Regions from separate parts of the Homo sapiens genome. Here regions 1 and 3 are each linked to region 2. Evidence: promoter capture Hi-C in 16 types of primary human blood cells and fetal thymus (Javierre and others, 2016). All regions are on one chromosome and are shown on one strand. The core of a region is centred on a gene start or on the middle of the fragment in contact, and the rest is flanking DNA. Distances in the headings are between cores, read along the strand shown. Region 1 overlaps MYO5B (myosin VB). Region 2 holds the start of MYO5B (myosin VB). Region 3 overlaps MYO5B (myosin VB).

Region 1 (2,773 bases), core at 148-2,647, 170 kb before region 2:
ACGCAGGCCCTTTACCCCCACCTCCTAGGTTCTAGGACAGGTTTAAGGGAATCCCCGGACCAGACTAAGGAAGAAGCCCAGCCTAAAGTGGGAAGCTAAGTTCAGCTTTGGTGTGCTGCTGTTTAAGATAACAGCAGACCAGCATTGTTGGAGGAGGCAACTGACAAACCCATAGATGGGACTAGGGGCAGGATGGGAGGTGGAATTTGCTGCTTTGTCAAAGTTACAAAGGGTCTTCTAGGCATCTTCTTTAAGAATAAACCATCTATTCTTCTTACAGATTTCCTATGTGAGAAATCCTACAATGTCTTACAAAAAAAAAAAAAAGTCACTTTAGTGATTTACTACCATGACAGTAAAGACATCTTTCATTAGTTCTAAGAACATTGCGTCATCAGCCCACCTCAGTTCTAGAGGAAAGAGCTCTAGAGAATGGGAGCACCTGGATTCTAAATGGACACTGCCACTTAGCCTACATGACCTAGACAAGTTTTTGAACTGCAGTGGGCCCACAACACACCTCACAAGGGTATTATGCCAAACCAAGCTGCGGCGTGACCACAGTTCAGACGGAAAGCACTGGACTATTTTGGTTATTATCAACCATCATAGTATGAAGCTATTAGTAAGCTTCTATTAATGCGGCTCCAGAGTATCTAGATACCAGGAGAATGGGAGAGGGCCATGATCCTCTTCTCTGGCCAGTTGAGTTAGAATCCTGGCTCAATTACGGAAGCCACATTTTGTGAGATACTTAGAAAAATTGAAATATATTCTGAGAAAGTCAATCAGAATAGTAAACTATCACATGAAGAATGCTAATGAGATGAGGAAGAGTTTAGCTTAGAGAAAAAAGACTAAAAGACCATTCCCAGAATAGTCTGTTCTAGCAGCTGCTCCAGAAAAGAGGCAGGCCCTGGGGCTGTGGTAGGTAGCAGGGCGGCTGGTATCTCTTCACCTCTAAGAGCTTTCAAAAGTGGAATGGCTGCCTCCCGGAGACACTAGAAGTTTCCAGCCTAGACCGGGTATCATGCGTTGAAGATGCTGAAAGATGAAACCCTGTCCTATGCTGTTTGACCTGAAGAGCCTTCCAACTTCAGAAAGAAAAAAAATCTTCACTCTATGCACTACCTCAACACATACTCCATAAAATAAAATATAAGGGGCTCTATAAATATAAGGAAGTAAAATGGACAAAATTGTAGAAGTGACAACCCCATACAGGCAGGAAGAAAAATCTCTGCTTTAGATTGCTGAGCTGGAGTTCGTACACATCAGGTAATTATGATGGATTAATATGTGCAATGACAAATGGAATAAAACTCTAGGAGCCCAATGACCCAGTGCGGAAGCAGAAAAAACCCGAGTGAGCATATATTAATCCCCAGTATCATAACTGAAGATCAATACCATACATTTAAACTAAATGTGGCTAGAGAGACTCTAAATAGTTCAAACACTTATATTAACATTCTCAGGAACACAAGGTCAGGGGTGCAGTCATTCTTAGCTAGGAAGGGTGACTAAGCAGAGAAGTCCTGGGTGCTGGGATTCCACCTCTCTCCTTCTCTCTGCTACCAGGTGCAAGACATTTTCTCAAAAGACATCCCATAATTCTAAGTATTCTTGGTACTTGCTCTTGTAGAGAAGGTTTAATGCCCTTTTTAACCAAAAAGGACATCTTTTTAAAAGCAAGTCATCAATCATGAATCATTTTATTCTCTAGTTCTGGGAATACAGAGGACCAAATTAATTTCCGTCATCTTTTGGCTGTAAGTACACTCCTCCCTCTGGCTTCCAACATTATCGATCTGTAATAGGGGCAGGAGCCAGGAAGGTTCAAAGGCATTTGCTTTTAAGCCTGTCCACTGTGGTTCTAAAGGACATAGACATGGGGCTTTCTCCTGGCCATGCTGCACTGCCTGCAGACCTTTCTGCAGTATTCCTCAACCAGAGAGGTTCCCTGACTTCCCGAGTATCTGCTGTGGACAAAGACCAGGTAGACTAGCCATACACTGGGACTTAAAATCATGGAGATAGTTAAAATTAAGAGCTTTGGGGAGTTCCTTTAAGTCAAAACACTGTTCATTATCATACTAAAACTGTCCTTACGAACTGTATAAAATTAATCAGGGAAGAAGGGAGTGGGAAAATGAAAATAAACCAAGCTTGCAGCACATTCAGTGTTCATGAGGTCGGCTTGCTTTCTGACTCTCTTCCTCATAGTTATGTGGTGCCTACTGTCCTAGAATTACAGAGACCCTGTTACAAGACTATAGCTCCCGTTCACTGCTCTATAGATAACAACTTGAATATTAAAAAACATTTTCCATTTAAGATTTTCTTTCAGAGATCTGGGAAGTTCTCACTTCCCTAACAATCTCTCCTTGATTGACATCATCCATTCCCAAGGCTTTAAGTACCATCTACAGGTCAAGACCTGCATATCAGTGATACTAACATAGCTGGTCTGAAGGACCTCAGGAGAAACTAACTCAAAGAACGCAGTTTCCACATCCCGATGATTTCATCACCCTTCCTCCAACCAGTTCACAACCCCAGTTGTCTAGCCCCTTGCCCTCTGTGATCCCCTTAAAAACTCCAGCCCGGAACTCCTCAAGGAGGTGGATTTAAGGATCTCCTCCCATCTCCTCTCTTGGTGCCCTGTGATCATTAAACTCTTTCTCTGCTGAAAACCCTGCTGTCTCAGTGTAACTGGTCTGTTACTGTGCAGTGGGCATATGAACCTGTTGGTCCTGTAACAGTATATGTT
Region 2 (2,700 bases), core at 66-2,565:
GGGGTCCCGGGCGGCTGCAGCGCTGCCGCGAGCTCCCCTGGAAGCGGTGGCTTGTCCCTAACTTTAACCACAGCAACTGCTGCGGAACGCGGGCGTCTCCGCCCGGGCTGCACCTGTTCCCGATTCGGAGCACCCAGCCTCACACATCCCTTCTGACCTTGAAGGCATCCTGAAACTCACACCCTGCTCCCGGTTCGACTTTACTCCAACCCCCTCCCCGCAGTCACTGAAGCCCTCTTTGTACCAAAGAGGCCGCGTCAAAACATCCATCCCCAGCAAATTCACAATGCTCTTCCCTGGGGTCTCCGGAGATAACGGCGCACCCCTCTACCCATTGCTTACCCTCACTCCATCCAGCCGCCGCGCCCTCACGCCAGGTTGTCTCCTCCCTCTCCACCAAGTCCAGAACCCCCACCTCTCCCAAGTCCAGGGTTCCCTGTTGTGGGTATGCGGGAGGAAAGGACGCCTCGGAGGCGCGCCCTCGAGAGCCGGCGCCGCAGAGCCCCTGGGGTGGGGTCCACGGCGGGGACAGGGGACAGCAGCGGGAGCACCGCGGGGGCCCGTCCCGCGCACGGCGCTCAGAGCTGGCAGGGTCGCCCTGCCGTTCGGGGAACTCGGTTGGAGCCGAGCCCAGGCAACGAAAGTGAGGGGCGCGGCGGGGAGGGGGCGACAGCCCTGGCTTGGTGCTGAGCCGTGGCGCTGCGGAACCTCTAGGAGCCGGGTGGCCGGTCAGTGCGGGCGTTCCCGGAACCGCCAAACTTTCTCCGCCAACCGAAGTTAGGGACTCCGAGGACAGTGACGAGGAGGACACCGCGGAGGGGGGTCTCCCGTCACCTCCCGCCTCCAGTAGCCGAGGGAGAAGGCGACCCTGAGTACTAGGTGGCCCCGAGCGCGCCACCCCGGCCCCGGGGCGCCTCCCTCGCGGCCGCGCTCACCTGGCTGTAGAGCTCGCCCACCGACATGGCCCGGGCCGGGCGGGGCTCGGGCCCCGGCTCCTGGCTGCCCCGCGGCTCTCAGTCCGCGGCTGGCCCGCCTGGCGCCATGTTCCCGGGCTGGCCTGGAGTTTCTCGATCTTCTCGCTCTTCTCCGACCTGCCCCGCCGGCTTCCCGCAGGCGCCGCGGCCGGCTCGCTCCCGGCGGCGCGACCTTTACTCCCGCCGCGGCGGCGCAGCTACGGCCGGACAGGAGTTGCGAGCGCCGGGGGAGGAGGCCGCGCCGCACCACTCCCCTCCCAGGTGTGGGGAGGAGGCGAGGGCCGGCGAGGAGGGAGGACCCGCTCGCGTCAGAGCGGACGGCCCGTGCGCCGCCGCGCCTCTGAGCCCTGCCGGTGCCCGGCCCGACGCGCCCTCCCGCGCCCCCGCTGCCACCTGGGCCTCCGGGCCGGGGGCGGGGCGCTCAGAGAGGAGCTCCGGGACCGGCGCGGGCCGCCCCCTGCTGGACGCCGCGCGCGCGCAGGCACAGGTGCGCCCCGGCGCCCGCACCTGCCCTGCCGCGCTCCGCTTCCACCCGCACCGGGCCCCGCGGAGTCCGGCATGAACGCGGTGCAGACAAGAAAAGGGAAGAGGAACTAACCAGAGAGGGGGGAAAAAAGAGAAGCGTCTATGGCTGGAAGGCCCCAGACATTGCCCTCGATTTTACCTGGCTGTATTCAGCGCTTTCATGATTAAAATTCAGTTACTCGTAGATCGTTATTAAGGCGACCTGGATATACATACACCAGGGATCTTCTCCTTCAAACTGAACTCTCTGCGCGGAAATCCTTGTCAGTAAAGTGGGAGTCGTAACTCCTTCTGTACAAATATTGTCCACTTTCGCCCACAGCCTCCAAGGAGACTCCAGGCCACTCATCTCAGAGGGCTTCTGCTTTTCCGGGAAGTCTCACGTTCTCCCAACCCCCGTCTCGTCTACATGCAGACTCCGGGTCCTTTTGCCACTCACTACCTCGTTTATTTGTGTTCCCTCTCTGACCATGGCACTTGGCTGCCTGCAGCAACTTCAGCTCCTCTCCTACTTCCAGTGAAAAGTAGAAATTTCAACCAAGAAAAAAAAAAAAAAACTGCCAGAAGTCTGTGGAGGGAGACGAGGGGCTGTCAGAGGAGACACTCCCTTCTGAAGCTGACATCTGTCCCTGACCCAGGGGTGGCCCCTGAAAAGTGGTTCTCAACCGGAAGATATATCTGTACCAGCCGGGGCAGTTGTTCAAGAGCCCCAGAAGGTGATTCTCAGAGGCATCCCACCTGGAACTCAAGATCCCGTTGTAATTCACCTGTGCAGGCCTTCCCATGGGCACCTCCACAATGAGAGTCACATGGGGAGCTTTAAGCGTTCCAAGGAAGAGGCCCCAACCCAAGGAATTCTGATATAATGAAGGATGGGACCTGGGTATCCCAATTTTTAAAGCTCCTCTGAAAGTCTAAAGGATGGTACTTCCAGGGTGACAAATGCATTGACCAAAGCTTGGGCGGCTCTCATTGGACCTAAAAATGGAACTCTTCACATCAGTGGCAAGAGCAGAAAGGGATTTTTTTCTCTTCCTCAAAAGTTTTTCTGCATATTTCCCTTCCCCGGATTCCTGTAGCTCTTAAAGTGTGTCCCCACCCCCCACGCCCACCATCAGCATCACCTGGTAACTGTTAGAAATACAAGTTATTGGGCTCCACTGCAGACCTACTGAACCATAAACTCTGGTGTGGGGCCAGT
Region 3 (2,796 bases), core at 1-2,500, 250 kb before region 2:
TGTCCTCACCCTACTTCCTATATCTCAATCAAGTACCAAGTTCTGCCCACAGGGGAGTATCATGCAGTCCTTTTTTTTTTCATTAATCTGGAGCTGGAGCTGCTGCTCCAGCTCAGGACTACCCAGCTCTCTCCTGGATCACTACAGTCACCGAAAGCGTGAGGGCATACCTCCGGGCACACCTTCACCCAAACACATTCCAACCAACAGCCAGAGTTTTCTCTGGATGCAAACCTTATCCAGTAGCCACATGTTAAAGGCCCATTTGTTTGTCCTCACTGTCTATGGCAGAAAGCCATAGATGAACAGTGTTCAGGTGAACTAAACACTGAGAGTGGCAGGAGCAGAATGGGCTGGTGGAGGGGAGGAGGGGAGGAGGAGGAGGAGGAGAGGAGAGCTGGGCCTGGGGGCTCCATGGACCAGGGCCAGAGAGCCAAGACACAGGTAAGAAAGGACAAAGTGGCCCGTCAGACTGGTGCTGAGAAAGCTCCATGGGGAAATAATGGGAGGCTGGAGGCAGGTTCACATTTTGAAGATGCCATTGTGATTCATGCCTGTCTGTCATGGCAAAGCAAAACACTGGCTTATTAAATAATTCTAATTCATATACTTTCTGAAGTGAATTTTCAAGATGTTTGAGGCATGGGTAGAAGTTACCAATCTGCATAACTATACTATTGGGTAGTGGGGAGGGGGTTAAATTTACAGAAATCATTCATAGTAGCTTTTACTGTAAAAAAAAAAAAAATATTAAGCCCTAAGGTCATTAACAGGTACAGATTGAGTATCCGTTATTCAAAATTTGAGAATTTTGAGACCAGAAGTGTTTCAGATTTTGGAGAATTTACATTATACTTACTGGTTGAGCATCCCTAATCTGAAAATCCAAAATGCAAAAATACTCCAGTAAGCATTTCCTCCCATCCATGCACTAACCAGGCCCGACCCTGCTTAGTTTCTGAGATCAGATAAGCTCAGGCACGTTCAGGGTGGTATGGCCGTAGATGCATTTCCTTTGAGTGTCATATTGGTGCTCAAAAAGTTTCAAATTTTAGAGCATTCTAGATTTGTGATGCTTGATCTGTATGAAAAATCACACTAGGAACTTGGAAATCAGAATCACCAATGGGAGAATTTTAAGATTTCAGCCCCTTTCTCCTGCTTCCATTAGAAAGGCTATCTATGCTTTTAATTTTATACATTAAACAGGGACTTTGTAACTTAAGAACAGAAAGTAAAAACTGTCCAAGGCAGATTTGTACCTAAGCTGGCACTGTGCTATAATCTGGAATCAACATAATCAAGGTTTAGTCTGAAGAATTTGTATGTTATTTGAAAAGCTAGGTTTTCCTTTAAGTTCCTGCTGTTGAGACTGCCTTTGGCAGTGGCAGGATCTGGGATTTAGAGGGAGATGACTGTGTTGGAATATTAGTTCTCAAAAGGAGGTACCAGTATGCTTCGTATTCTATTCAAAATTTGTTTTATAAACTCAAATGAACATAAGAGATCTAGTTTGATGACAGGACTGAAAGACTAAGAGATACCATGTTCAACGCTGGGCTGTAGACATCCGCAAAAGACCCAGGCAAGAAATACAAATTATGGTTCCATCCACACCCATCCCTTAAGAAGATTGGGCTACGTAAGGATACCTCACCTGAGAAGTGTCCCAACTATACACAAGCCCAGAGTCACAATGAAAAGTAGTCACCAAGCTCTTTTTTTTTTTTTTTTTTTTTTGAGACGGAGTCTCACTCTGTCACCCAGGCTGGAGTGCAATGGCACGATCTCAGCTCACTGCAAACTCCACCTCCCGGGTTCACGCCATTCTCCTGCCTCAGCCTCCCGAGTAGCTGGGACTACAGGCGCCCGCCACCACGCCTGGCTAATTTTTTGTATTTTTAGTAGAGATGGGGTTTCGCCATGTTAGCCAGGATGGTCTTGATCTCCTGACCTTGTGATCCGCCTGCCTTGGCCTCCCGAAGTGCTGGGATTACAGGCGTGAGCCACCGCACCCAGCCGTAGTCACCAAGCTCTTACTTGACAAAGGACCCATACAAAGGATCACATTTCTGAGCGAAAAGAAGTTTTTAAATTTTTATTTTTTAATTGACGCATAATAACTGTACATACATGGGGTACCTAGTTTTGACATATATAGTGTATAGTAATCAGATCAGGGCAATTGACAAACTCCAATTATGTGTTTAGAGTTATTAAGCAGTCTGTTTATAAGCTGACTGAGCAGTAAGAGAGCTGCCACAATTTACCTTAGGGCAGCCACCCGGGCATTTCTCACAATTTGTCCCCTTCGAACTCAAACACTCAAGCTAGCACCTCCAGACAAACCAATATTTTCCTGTCACTTGTTTAAAACCTGTACATAGGGACTGGCTTTGGTATTCTCTGCTATTCATTCCTATATATAGCTTTTAAAAGCCTGGGGCAAATCAAAAAGGGACTAAGAAGCATGAAAAAACTTTGTAAAGGCCATTTGGCAGTTTAAAAAAAGTCAACGTGCAGGTTTGTTACATCTGTATACATATGTATACATGTGCCATGTTGGTGTGCTGCACCCATTAACTCGTCATTTAGCATTAGGTATACCTCCTAATGCTATCTACATACGTAACAAACCTGCACGTTGTGCACATGTACCCTAAAACTTAAAGTATAATAATAATAAAATAAAAAGTCAATTACAGCTGACACATAGCTGTTACCTTGGAAATCACACCTACTCATTTGTGTTTATAAGAATATAAAAGATATTTCCTCTGAAACAGACACATAAAG

What was found. Contacts are between HindIII fragments. The CHiCAGO score rates a contact against its expected background, and 5 or more counts as called.
Region 1: a contact is called between a fragment that was not itself captured here and the fragment with the promoter of MYO5B in region 2, in 1 of 17 cell types (endothelial precursors). The highest score is 5.3, in endothelial precursors.
Region 3: a fragment that was not itself captured here is called in contact with the fragment with the promoter of MYO5B in region 2 in 1 of 17 cell types (naive CD4 T cells); the score reaches 5.6 in naive CD4 T cells.

Annotation. Positions count from the first base shown.
Region 1 is chr18:50,022,824-50,025,596 of GRCh38, forward strand. All of the region lies in intron 4 of MYO5B (myosin VB), which reads right to left. Among named protein-coding and RNA genes, the nearest start is that of MIR4320, 100 kb to the right of the region's middle. The HindIII fragment of the contact is 1,538 bases long and covers 629-2,166 here.
Region 2 is chr18:50,193,832-50,196,531 of GRCh38, forward strand. MYO5B (myosin VB) reads right to left here and starts at 1,316. Exons shown (of 40, transcript NM_001080467.3): 1 at 936-1,316. The coding sequence starts at 962. RefSeq lists silencers at 991-1,230, 1,291-1,530. The HindIII fragment of the contact is 3,223 bases long and covers 1-2,454 here.
Region 3 is chr18:49,945,384-49,948,179 of GRCh38, forward strand. All of the region lies in intron 14 of MYO5B (myosin VB), which reads right to left. It also overlaps the pseudogene RNA5SP457. Among named protein-coding and RNA genes, the nearest start is that of SNHG22, 130 kb to the left of the region's middle. The HindIII fragment of the contact is 3,763 bases long and covers 1-2,796 here.